3 separate regions of the Homo sapiens genome follow, and all the other regions are linked to region 3. Evidence: promoter capture Hi-C in 16 types of primary human blood cells and fetal thymus (Javierre and others, 2016). All regions are on one chromosome and are shown on one strand. The core of a region is centred on a gene start or on the middle of the fragment in contact, and the rest is flanking DNA. Distances in the headings are between cores, read along the strand shown.

Evidence for each region. Contacts are between HindIII fragments. The CHiCAGO score rates a contact against its expected background, and 5 or more counts as called.
Region 1: a contact is called between the fragment with the promoter of UICLM here and the fragment with the promoter of ANO7 in region 3, in 10 of 17 cell types (naive CD8 T cells, naive B cells, naive CD4 T cells and 7 more). The highest score is 10.6, in naive CD8 T cells.
Region 2: a contact is called between a fragment that was not itself captured here and the fragment with the promoter of ANO7 in region 3, in 5 of 17 cell types (endothelial precursors, naive CD8 T cells, naive CD4 T cells and 2 more). The highest score is 5.9, in endothelial precursors.

What each region holds. Positions count from the first base shown.
Region 1 is chr2:240,965,403-240,969,311 of GRCh38, reverse strand. It overlaps UICLM (up-regulated in colorectal cancer liver metastasis), which reads left to right and starts at 1,861. Exons shown (of 9, transcript NR_033841.1): 1 at 1,861-1,985. It overlaps CROCC2 (ciliary rootlet coiled-coil, rootletin family member 2), which reads right to left. Exons shown (of 32, transcript NM_001351305.2): 23 at 3,794-3,909; 24 at 3,319-3,676; 25 at 2,903-3,087; 26 at 1,847-1,967; 27 at 1,050-1,183. The HindIII fragment of the contact is 9,726 bases long and covers 1,765-3,909 here.
Region 2 is chr2:240,941,536-240,945,087 of GRCh38, reverse strand. All of the region lies in intron 14 of CROCC2 (ciliary rootlet coiled-coil, rootletin family member 2), which reads right to left. Among named protein-coding and RNA genes, the nearest start is that of UICLM, 24 kb to the left of the region's middle. The HindIII fragment of the contact is 872 bases long and covers 1,609-2,480 here.
Region 3 is chr2:241,186,771-241,190,484 of GRCh38, reverse strand. It overlaps ANO7 (anoctamin 7), which reads right to left and starts at 1,808. Exons shown (of 25, transcript NM_001370694.2): 1 at 1,719-1,808; 2 at 314-428. The coding sequence starts at 421. It overlaps LOC105373971 (a long non-coding RNA gene), which reads left to right and starts at 2,063. Exons shown (of 3, transcript XR_924064.3): 1 at 2,063-2,209. RefSeq lists enhancers at 1-236, 1,170-1,853, 1,854-2,538. The HindIII fragment of the contact is 15,628 bases long and covers 1-3,714 here.

The DNA.
Region 1 (3,909 bases), core at 612-3,111, 220 kb after region 3:
GCCCTCTGGTGGCCTCTGAGGGCCACCAGGCTCCGGGGCTGAGCCCCGCGTGGAACAGCACAGGCCTGGCCGGCTGCCCTTGGGGCCTTTCTGCCAACCTGCAAGGCCGTCCCTCCTGATGGCTCACCCAGGCCTCCCTCATTGGAGGGACACTTGGAGAGGAGTGGCTCCCCGGTCTCTGTGCCCTGTCTCCTCTGCACTGTGCTGGCCCCCTCTTTCCAGAATGGGTTGAGGGACGCCTGGGGGCAGTTGCCCTGGGGAGCCTCAGCCAGGCACGCTGTTCTCTGGCCCCTGGGGCCTGCAAGGGAGCTCTCTGGAGCGGAACAGTTGTCCCCTGGCCCAGTCCTGACAAGAGGATCTCAGGACACCCCGGGGGCTGCTTGGACCTGTGGGGCTGGGCTGGCTGGGCCTGGGGCTCCCCACCAGCACTGAGGACCAAGGCCTGGGCCAGGCCTCCATCCACCACTGCCTGGCCGTTCCATTTCCAGGCCCAGGCTCCTCACCTGAAAACCTCAGACCCAGCGGGCACCTCCCCAGCACAAAGCCTGGCATGTAGGGACACTGACTTCAGCCCTTCCTGAGAGGCCCCTTCTGTGTCTGAGCCACATGGAATGAAAAGTGGTCTTGGAGCAGGACAGTGTGACCCTATAAAGAGCCCCAAGGCTGGGCCAGGGCCGCCCCATGCCTGCCGCTGTGGCCTCAGCAAGAAGAAAGGGCCTAGACTTGGGGCTCTGCCCCCCACTCGCTGTGCCCCCAGGGCCAAGTCCTCAGTTTCCCCAACCTGTAAAACAAGGGCTAGAACCACCGTAAGGACAGCTCTGCTAAGGACGACCCCAGTCCCGATGACCCCAAAGCCGCCTGCCACAGCCCAGCCTGCACCTCTGCCCCAGGGCCCCACCGGGCTGGCTCCAGCCCCGAACACCCACAGAAGCCCTTGCAGACCCCTCTCTCCCACCTCCCGGCCCTGTGGCCTCCCTGCAGGGTGTGAGGGTGACCGAGAGGCCTTGTTCTTGTGCCCCACCTGGGACCCACCCTGCCGCCTGCCCCACCTGCAGCCGCCGCTTCTCCTGGCCTGCCGCACGCACGCTCGCCAGGTGCTCCAACTCCAGCCTGCGGAGCGCCTCCTTCTGCAGGGCACGTGCTGCCCGGGCGCTGCTCAGCGCGCCCTCCACCCGGCGCTGGCCTGTGGGGCAAGCAGGGTGGCTTGAGGGGCCCCCATGCCCCTCCCAGGTCACAGGCAGGCAATGCAGGGCTCTGTGGACTTGAGTGACTGGCTCCCACGTGGAGGTGGGGGTCCATCCTTGCAGCTCAAGGGTCCTGGGGCTGCCCCAGGGTCCCGGCTTCCCACCCATCCTTCCCTCCTGCCTCTTTCCTTTAATTGAGGGGCAATAAGCAGAGAAACTCGTGAGTGTGAGGCAGTGGGGGGCAGAAGGAAGGGGCCTCTCTGAGGGGGTGACGAGGGGCAGGGCCTGCCCGGGGAGAGCCGTGTGGCTGTCTGGGGGAGAGGGTGCCAGGCAGAGGGCACAGCCAGGGCAAAGGCCCCCAGTGGGAACTGCAGGAGGCCAGGGTGGGGCAGGGGGGCAGAGGATGCTGGGGGCCGGATCGGGAGGGCCCTGATGGGCCTGTGGACGTCACTCCTCTGTGCTGGGGAAGTCGCTGCTGAGAACTCCGATGCCAAGCGCTGACCCAGCCTCGCCAGGCCTGGTGGTTTGGGTGTTGCCCCCAGGCTCCCTTCCCACCGAGCTGCCCCAGGGACTGAAAGCTTATAGCCGGCAGCAGTGGGGACATGGTGGTGCCACTCTCACAGCCACTCCCAGGGTGGGCGGGGCAGGGCAAGGGAGGTCACCTTCTTCCGCCTCAGCCAGGGCTTTCTGCAGCTGCCCCACGCGGCTCTGGGCCCGGGCACACCTGCACTCTGCCTCGCTCAGCCGGCTGCTCAGGGTCGCCATCTGGATGCGGGAGTCATCCTGGGCAGAAGGACTGAGGTCAGCGGGGGCAGTCCAATGGGCGGGTGGAGGGCCAAGGTGTCTGCTAGAGGGTCGGGGCCAGCTGGGGCCGCTCACGGTCTGGCCTGCAGGTGTGCAGGGCAGGGCAGTGGGTGGTGTGGGCCGTGGGCTCGGGGAAGGTGCGGGGAAGGTGATCACACTGGGAAGCTGCGCTGACCTGCAGGCCTGGGGAGGTGGAGGCGCCCAGTGAGACTCGGCCTAAAGGGTCCAGGTTTCAAGCACAGGTGTGGTGTGGGAGAGCTGGCAGGTGGCGGCCCACAGCCTGTGGTCAGGGGGACCGGTAGGGGCTGCCCCTGGCGGGACTTGGGGCTGAGTGCAGACGGGACCCTGCCCCCTGGGGCTGGCAGCGGTGGGAGGGTGGGCCCGAAGGGAAGGAGTGTGCACAGAGGACCCTGGCCAGGGCTCAGGGCCTGCCTCTGTCTTTCCCACAGTCCTGCCCACTGGAGTCATCCAGCGAGGTGGGAGGGGGCCGCTCACGGGTGGTTCTGTGGGAGCCCTGAAGCCAGGAGCAGCCACTGGGGAGCTTGGCCCCACCGGAGGGGTCTTTGGGAGCATTGAGGGGAGCTTGCTGGCTCTGTCCTGCAGTTGCCCAGCCCCGGCAGCTCTTCAGGGGTGGCATGAGTTGCAGAATGCCCTACCCTGGGCCCTGGTGGGTGTCACAGCAGGGCCTGGCTCCAGGGGCTTTTCAGCCTGGTATAAGGAAGGGGGCGGCCTCCAGCCACCCAAGGCACTTGGGCTTGGGGGCCATGGTGGTGCTGGTGTTTATCACAACAAACAGGACGGCCTGGACACTGACCCTCAGACCCAGGGACGCGCGGATGGATGGACAGCAGGTGTTCTTCCCAGAGACCCCCGGGGGGTGCCGCCGTGGGCGGGAGGACCCCAGCCCCCATTACCCGCTCCCGCTGGGCTTCCCGGAGCTTCTGCACAAAGTCCCGCAGGATGTCCTGCACGGTGGCCACATCCATGAGCTCTGAGCTGCGGCCTCCGGGTGTGGGCGAGGGCCATCGGAGGGGCGAGTGGGGCCTGGCTGGGGGGCTGGTACCCTGTTGCCCAGGGAGAGCCTGGGAGCTGTCGGAGCCTGCGGGAGGTGACAGCGGAGGGGTCGTGGACAGGAACACAGTGACAGATACACGCCCTTCCCCTTTCCTCTCTGCTGCCCCAGCCATGGGAGGTTGGGGAGACGGCCACAGGTTCCTACAATTGCCTGTCCGAGTCCCTCACTGTGTGAGTTGTGAGGCCTGAAAGAGAGGTGCCAGGCCAGGGACTGAGCTGGGAGAGGGGCCCGCCTGCCTCCACTGAGGACTCTGACCTTTGGTGGGGGAACCAGGCTGCTCCGGGGAGGCCCACGGGCTCTGTCTCTGGAGCCCCAGGCCACGGCGGAGCGTGGAGCACAGCCGGCCCAGCTGGGCCTCCGCATCCTGCCTTGCACCCTCAGCCTGGGCCAGCTCCTGCTCCAGGCTGTGGATTCGGTGACAGGCCTGGTCCAGGCGAGCCTGGAGAGCATCAGCCACACCACTGGCTTCCTGCAGCTTCCTGGTGACACTGTGCAGCTCTGCTCGGAGGGTCTGCTCAGCCCCCCGGCTCTCACGGAGGTGCTCCTGGAGCCGCTGTCCATGGGCCTCCCCTGCGGCCTCCACCTCTGCCAACTTCCTCTGCAATCCCAGGACCTGTAGGAGGGATGTTGGGGTGCGCCCGTGGGAGACAGTGAGGAAGTGGGGTGGGCCTCCTCCCTCTGCTCCCCGACGCCCAGCTCCTTCCCTTCTGACCACAGGCAGCCCTCCCACCTCCTTCCGGGCACCCTCGTGCTTGGCCTCTGCCTTGGCTGCCTGCCTCCGCAGCTCCAGCACCTCCTGCGAGCACTGCGCCTGCAGCTCATGGGCCTCTCCACTCCTCCTCTGGT
Region 2 (3,552 bases), core at 795-3,294, 250 kb after region 3:
GCACACACCTGTAATCCCAGCTATTCAGGAGGCCGAGGCAGGAGAATCGCTTGAACCCAGGAGGCAGAGGTTATGGTGAGCCAAGATCATGCCACTGCACTCCAGCCTGGGTGACAGAGTGAGACCCTCTCTCAAAAACAAACAAACAAACAACAACAAGAACAAAAATAAATGCTTTCTGGAAGAAGAATCGCATCATCAAGATCCTCAAATTATTTCTATAATTTATTATATATAAGATTGACTAATCAAGATCTGGCCTATCAGGAGACAGGACCACATGACAAAAAAACCACTAATAAGAACAGAAAATAGATATAGATCCTCCTACCCTGGTTATCTAGATATTGGAGTTATCAGACACAAACTTTAAAATAGCTGATTCACGTGTTCAAGAAGATGGATAGCAAGACGTAAAGTTTAACAATAGAACTGGATACTAAATATAAAAAAGACAATTTAAAATATAATAACCAAAAGTAAAAAAAAAATTAATAGACAATGGCAGATTAGACAGAATAAAAGAAAGGACTAATAACCTGGAAGAGAGACAAAGAATGTGTTCAGACTGAATCATAAAGAGATAGAAGGATGGATAGAAAATACACAAAAGAATGTTATAGACATATAGGACAAGCTAAAAATGCCCATCATATGTGTAATTACAGCCTCAAAAGGAGATGAGAGGGCACATTTGAACAGATACAGGCCAAGAATGTTCCAAATCTAATAAAATACATCTAGCCACAGACTTAAAATGAGCTGTAACCCCCAAAAGGATAAATTAAAAGAAAATGTCACATATATACAACTTAGTAAAGTTTCTGAATACCAAAGATAAAGAAAAATGTTTTTTAAAAAACAAAGGGAAAAAGACACATAGGCGTGAAATGAACAAGACTGACATTTGCTTTCTATGCAACAATGAAGGCCAGAAGATGATGGAATGACTTCATTAAATTTCTGAAAGAAAATAATGGCTATTTTAGTATTCTATACCCAGCGAAAACATTCTTCAAAAGTAAAAACCAGGACTTTCTGCTTCTGATAATGGTGAGGTGGGTTGTTGAAAACCAACCCTCCCATCTAAAGCAACTAGAAAAGCAATACAACGTACAATCCAATAATCTGTTTAAAAGCATTAGAGAGATACTAACGCAGTCAGGTCCCAGGTGTTCAGGCTACAGAGAGAAATATATTAAAGTGAGTCTGAAATTCTATGAATACAACAGATTTCCCCTTTGAGGTATCTGCCAAGTCCTAAGTGACAGGGGGTGTAGAGCCTCAGTATCCAAGAATAAAGCTTTAGGCCGGGCTTGGTGGCTAATGCCTGTAATCCCAGCACTTAGGGAGGCCGAGGTGGGCAGATCACCTGAGCTCGGGAGTTCGAGACCAACCTGGCCAACATGGCGAAACCCCATCTCTACTAAAAATACAAAAATTAGCCGGGCATATGCCTGTAATCCCAGCTACTCAGGAGGCTGAGGCAGGAGAATTGCTTGAACCCAGGAGGCGGAGGTTGCAGTGAGCCGAGATCACCCCATTGCACTCCATCCTGGGCGACAGAGCAAGACTCTGCTTAAAAATTAAAAAAAAAAAAAAAAAGCTTTAGCTAAAAGACTGGGAACATGGCCTAAGATTTCAGCAGGCTTATGAGATTGAAGAGATATAACTTAGAGTTCAGATATACCAAAGCAGCCGGGGAACGAAAAGAAGAGCGGATATCAGAGAGCAAGGAAATGCCTTGAGGTAAGCCTGAGATTGTATATTGCGATTTTAAAAAATGGTACTGCTGGCTGAGCGCAAAATCCCAGCACTTTGGGAGGCTGAGGCAGGTGGATCACTTGAACCCAGGAGTTTGAGACCAGCCTGGGCAACATGGCAAAACCCCATTTCTACAAAAAACACAAAAATTAGCTGGGCGTGGTCATGTGTGCCTGTAGTCCCAGCTACTCGGGAGGCTGATGTGGGAGGATCACTTGAGCCCAGAAGGTCGAGGCTGCAGTGAACCATGGTCATGCCACTGCACTCCAGCCTGGGCAACAAAGACCCTGTCTCAGAAAATAAAATAAATGGTACTGCTTTGAAAAAGTATGTATTTTTTATAATTCAGAAGTAGTAAAGGACCAGGAGACTACGAATCTGAACAAAAAAATAGCAGCTGACAGTCTGAGAAGTCAGATAGTACTTTTGAAAGTCCTATCTGAAATAAAGATAATAAAAAAAAGACAATAAATAAAAAGAAAATAAAACCTGGAGTTTAGGGCTAACTAAAGAGTAGGAACCCTGGTAAACACCTGAGATTTCCCATTAGGAACATAGGAGAGTTATATTATACCCTGGGATAAGCCAGAAATAGACGACTCCTCACAAAAGACTGAAGTACAGTTACAAAGCAGCTAAATCCTGGACTGGATAAAGGCAATTTATCCCTATTCTGATTTCCCAAAGTCAAAAGCAAATTCCCTCTAGAAGAAGCTTATATCATTCAAAGCCTTAAATTATCTCTATGAATTATATCTACAAAAACACAAAGTCTGTCATTCAATCAAAAATTATTAAGCATAATAAAAAAACAAACAATATTAAGCATACTAGGAGACAAGGCCAAACTACTGAAAATAAATAAATAAAAGACAATAGAAATAGCTCATTAGGGGATCCAGATGTTAGAGTTATCAGACAAAGACCCAAAAAGTATTGTAATTAATATGTTTAAAAACATACTCAAGAAGGAAAAGAATGTTACCAAATAACTGAAATGTTTGTGAAAAGATGATTGAGTGTGTGTGTGTGAATGGTTAAAAATAATCATTTAAAAGTAAAAAGTATTAATAAAGTAATGTACGGTTTATAACAACACACACAGAAATAAAATATAGAACAACAAGAGCAAAAAGTATGGAAGAGATGTCTTAGTAAATTTGTGCTGCTATAACAAAGTACCTGAGACTGGGTAATTTATAAAGAACAGAAATTTATTAATTTATCTTCTCACAGTTCTAGAGACTGGGAAGTCCAAAATCAAGGTGCTGGCAGGTTCAGCTGTCTATCAAGGACTACTCTCTGCTTCCAAGGCTGTGCCTTGATGCTGCATTTTCCGGATGAGAAGAATGCTGCACCTTCACATGGTGGAAGGCATAAGGGAAAGTGAGACACAAATGATGCTGCAAGCCCCTTTCATAAAGGCTTTAATCTCGCTGATGAGGGTGGAACCCTTATGGCCTAAATCACCTCTTAAAGGTCCCATCTCTTAATACTATCACAATTAGTAAGTTTCAACACCTACATTTTGGAGGGGACACATTCGAAACATAGCAAGGGATGAATGGAATGTATTGCTGGAAGGGTCTTACATTGTTTGTGAAGTAATATAATATTTGGATATAGACTGTGCATATCATAATTTTAGGGTAATCACTAAAACTAACAAAAAGAAACACAGTTTCATTCTTCTACATGTGGCTTGACAATTATCCCAGCACCATTTCTTGAATAGAGTGTCCTTTCTTTACTTTATGTTTTTGATTGTTTTGTCGAACATCAGTTGAC
Region 3 (3,714 bases), core at 559-3,058:
GGACTGACACCACAGGGAGGGCCCCGCCCTGGTCTTGCCTTTGCCTGGCCAGGCCCCCCTTACCCTCCTGGAGCTCCTGTCTGAACATCAGTGGGTTCTGCTCGGTTCTCCACAGCCAGGCCAGGCCAGGAGAGCGGTGATCTGACTGTGTGTGTTGAGGACTGGGTGGCGAGGGCTTGGGGGTTGCCGGGGGATGCAGGAGAAACACGGTGATGCCCATCCACCCCCAGAGGCTCTGGGCCCAGGGTGGGGGCATAGACCCAGGCAGGGGAGGACCTCTCAAGTCGCACCACAGTCTCCTGGGTGCTGTTACCTCCGAGGCGTGGGCTGTGCTCCCGTAAGAGCCCCTCTTCTCTGCCTCAGGGGGGCTCACATCGATCAGGACGGTGCTGTCCTCTTCCTGGGCCCGTCGCCGCAGCATCCTGCTCCTGCACCCAGCAAGGCCGGGTGGGGATGGGGGTCAGAGAGGGGATGGGTGAGACCCGTTCCTGGGGCCACCACACTGCCTGCAGTGAGCTCACTTTACAGACTCGACTCGGAGTAGAATGGGGCTGGGCTGGCTCGGCAGACTCTCCTGGCCATGAGCACATGGAGAACCCCCTAGCCAGCCACGAGCTCCAGGAAGAAACCAGTGCCGGGGCGGGAGCGTCTGGCAGGCCTGGCACAGCAGGCGTCTGTCTGTCCATCCAGTGAGTGCCCGTGTCCCCCAGCCCTGAATGCCGTCCACTCTGCCTGGGTACTCAGTGGAGCCTGAGAAGGCCCAGAAAGGTGGGCCTGGAGTACAGACACCTCTCCCTCTCTTATCCGTAGGGTGGAGCCATGTGAGCCAGGGACAGGAAACCCCTCAAGTCGCCTGCCTTCGCTCATGGCCTGAGGACCCAGTGCCAGGACCCATAGGCCCTGAGCTCCCCAGCAAGGCGGGCCTGATGGAGCCCGGCCTCACAACTCTTGGGGGTCCCAGCTTCCTCCCGCACCTTCGCCCCGGGGGTCTCTCTCTGTGGGAGGACAGGTGCCGTGGCTCCTAGTCTTGGGCTGGCAAAACGGGGCCAGGAGCACGACATCTGTGGCCCTGGAAGGAGAGGGTTCGAGCTGGGGCTGGCATTTGGAGCTGCGACGATGACCGGAGGGTGTGACCATGGAGGCGCCGCAGGAGGTCGGAGGGGCAGCCTTCTAGTTCTACCCTTCACTTCACATTAGCGGAGGCCCAGAGGGACAGAGACTGAGCCTGGGCCGCCTGCACCTGCCTAACCCTGAAGCCCGAGCCAGGTCTCAGTGTTAGGACTCGGCCCCGGCCCCAGGCTGGGAGCCTCACTACGGACTGTGGGGTGTTCCTGGAGGAAAGTCCCCGAGGAGTTTCGGCCACCCAGCAGCCCCTCATGCCCCCATCCTTCTGTGGTGGGCAGGCGGGCCCCTCCTCAGAGCTCTCTGCAGAAAGAATGGGGATGCCCCCCACCCCAACGAAGGGACCTGCTCCATGGGGGAGCCCCTGGGCAGGCAGGAAGCCAACCCCAGCTGGGTGTACCCCGTCCAGAGCCGCACTGAGTGTGTGTCCCTCCTCGTGCCCCAAGGGGCTTTGGGGACCAGGGCGGGCCCTGGCACTGCCTCCCCACAGGCCAGGGTGTGTGAAAGTCCCGGTGGGCTGGGGTGCCGCCCTGCCTCCCTAGAGTCCAACGCTCCACCTTCTCCCTGTGGCCCACACGTCTAGGCTGGGTCCCCACCTGGCACAGTGGCTTCCGGAAGAGGTCTCGGAGGTCATGGCCCACCTCTCAGCGTGAGCCTGGTCTCGGCAGTAGAGTCCCGTCCTCACTGCGGGACAGAGGGTGGGGAGGGGTGGCCCTTGGAGCCCCGCCCAGGCAGTGGCAGCCATTCGCATGCCCTCACCTTGCCTGCAAGTGGGCCAGGAAGCAGGCAGGGGAGGTGCCCAGCACAGCTGGCCAGGGCAAGGCTTCCCGGCTCCTGGAGCAGGATCTATCTTTGTTTAAATAGGGGGTGTGGGGCTCAGAGCTGCAGACAGAGGCAGCCCACTTGGCTGGGCTTTCACACACCCGCATGCAAATGCTGCCGTCCTCCTGGGAACCTTATTTGCTTAGAGATTTCAGGGCTGGCATCAGCTGTCATAGTTGCTGCCTTGGAGGGTCTCGAGGAGGTGGGATTCCACAGGAACAGCCACAAGTGCCACCTCTGCTGGAAGCCTTGCCAGGCAGACCTCGTAAGCTCTGTTTATGTGGGGGGAAACTGAGGCTCCTTGAGGTTACGTAGCATGTGCTGAGTGGTGGGCCAGGGTTTCACCCGGGGGCTGGGGAGATTGGGAGACCCAGATCACACTGCTGGCTCTGCTAATGCCTGAGGGGTGACCTCAGGCACATCCCATGCTCAGGGCCCCATCTGCAAAAGGACAGGAGGGGTCCTAGCCTTCCTCCCATCCTTTCCGCCCTCCTCCTCGTCCTCATTCTCCTCCTAGCCCTCCTCTTTCTCCTCCTAGCCCTCCTCCCCCTCCTCCTTTCTCCCCCTCCTCCTATCCTTTCTCCCCACCTTCCCTCTCCTCCTTCTCCTCCTATTGTTTCTCCCCCCTACTCCTCCCTCTCCTTCTCCTCCTATCCGTTCTCCCCTCTCCCTCTCCTCCTATCATTTCTCCCCCCAACTCCTCCTCCTCCTCCTCTTTCTCCCCACTCCCCCTCCTCCTATCGTTTCTCCCCCTCCCCCCCACTTCTCCCTCTCCTCTTCCTTCTCCTCCTTTCTCCCCACTCCCCTCCTCCTGTTTCTCCCCCTCCCCCCACTTCTCCCTCTCCTCCTCCTTCTCCTCCTATCCTTTCTCCCCGCCCCTCCTCTTCCCCTCTCCCTCCCCCTCCCCCTTTCCTCCTTGGTGCCTGGCAGTGTCTGAGAACCTACCACCCGTGCTCCTCGCCCTCCATGCACAACTGCACTGGGGAGCCCCAAGCTCAGCTTGCTGTTCCAGGTGCCCCCTTCTGCCTGTTGAAATCCCTCCAGGCGGACCCTCATCCTGGCTGCAGCTTTCCCTTATACCTATGCCCCTCTGTGCTTGGCACCTCCCAAGGGGCCCTGTTCTTGGACCTGTGTTGTGCCTCGGAACAGCGGGAAGGCCCTGCAGGCCGGGTTCCCTGTCAGCACCAGCAGAGCCTGGGCGGCAGGACCTTGGGGCCCTGGGCCTCAGGGCATCTGCATGAGAGGTCTCTGCTTGGCCAAGCTCAGCCTGCAGGCGCCTGAGGTGGATCCCTGGACGAGGGCTGGACTGGGGAAGTGCTCCAGAAACCAGGAAAGGAGTCGGGAGGCAGGAGGGGAGGGAGGATGAGCGGGGCACCATCTCCCCAAGACCTGTGGAGGGTGGCCTCAGCCTGCCATGGGCACTCTGCAGGGGAGGCAAGACGAAGCGTTTCCTCACCTGGATGCAACTGTAGGCTCTTACTCTGCTCAGTCATTGGCCAAGGACCCTCCCAGGAAGACATGCCACCTCCCAGGAGCTCCTGGCTCTCTGCTCTTGGTGACAAAGTGGCTCTGGTGGCCTCAGGGCTGTCTACTCAAGAGCTTCAGGGCCGGCTGCTGGAGGTGACCACACCCCAGTGGGAGCCCTTTCAGCGACAGTGCACGCACAACACCTAAAGGGGGTTCGGCCCTGAGGAGTGTCTTTCCATTTTTACTTCATACAACTCTGTTTGGGTGGGTGGTTTTTTCAAGTTGTGTTACTTCTGAGGGAAA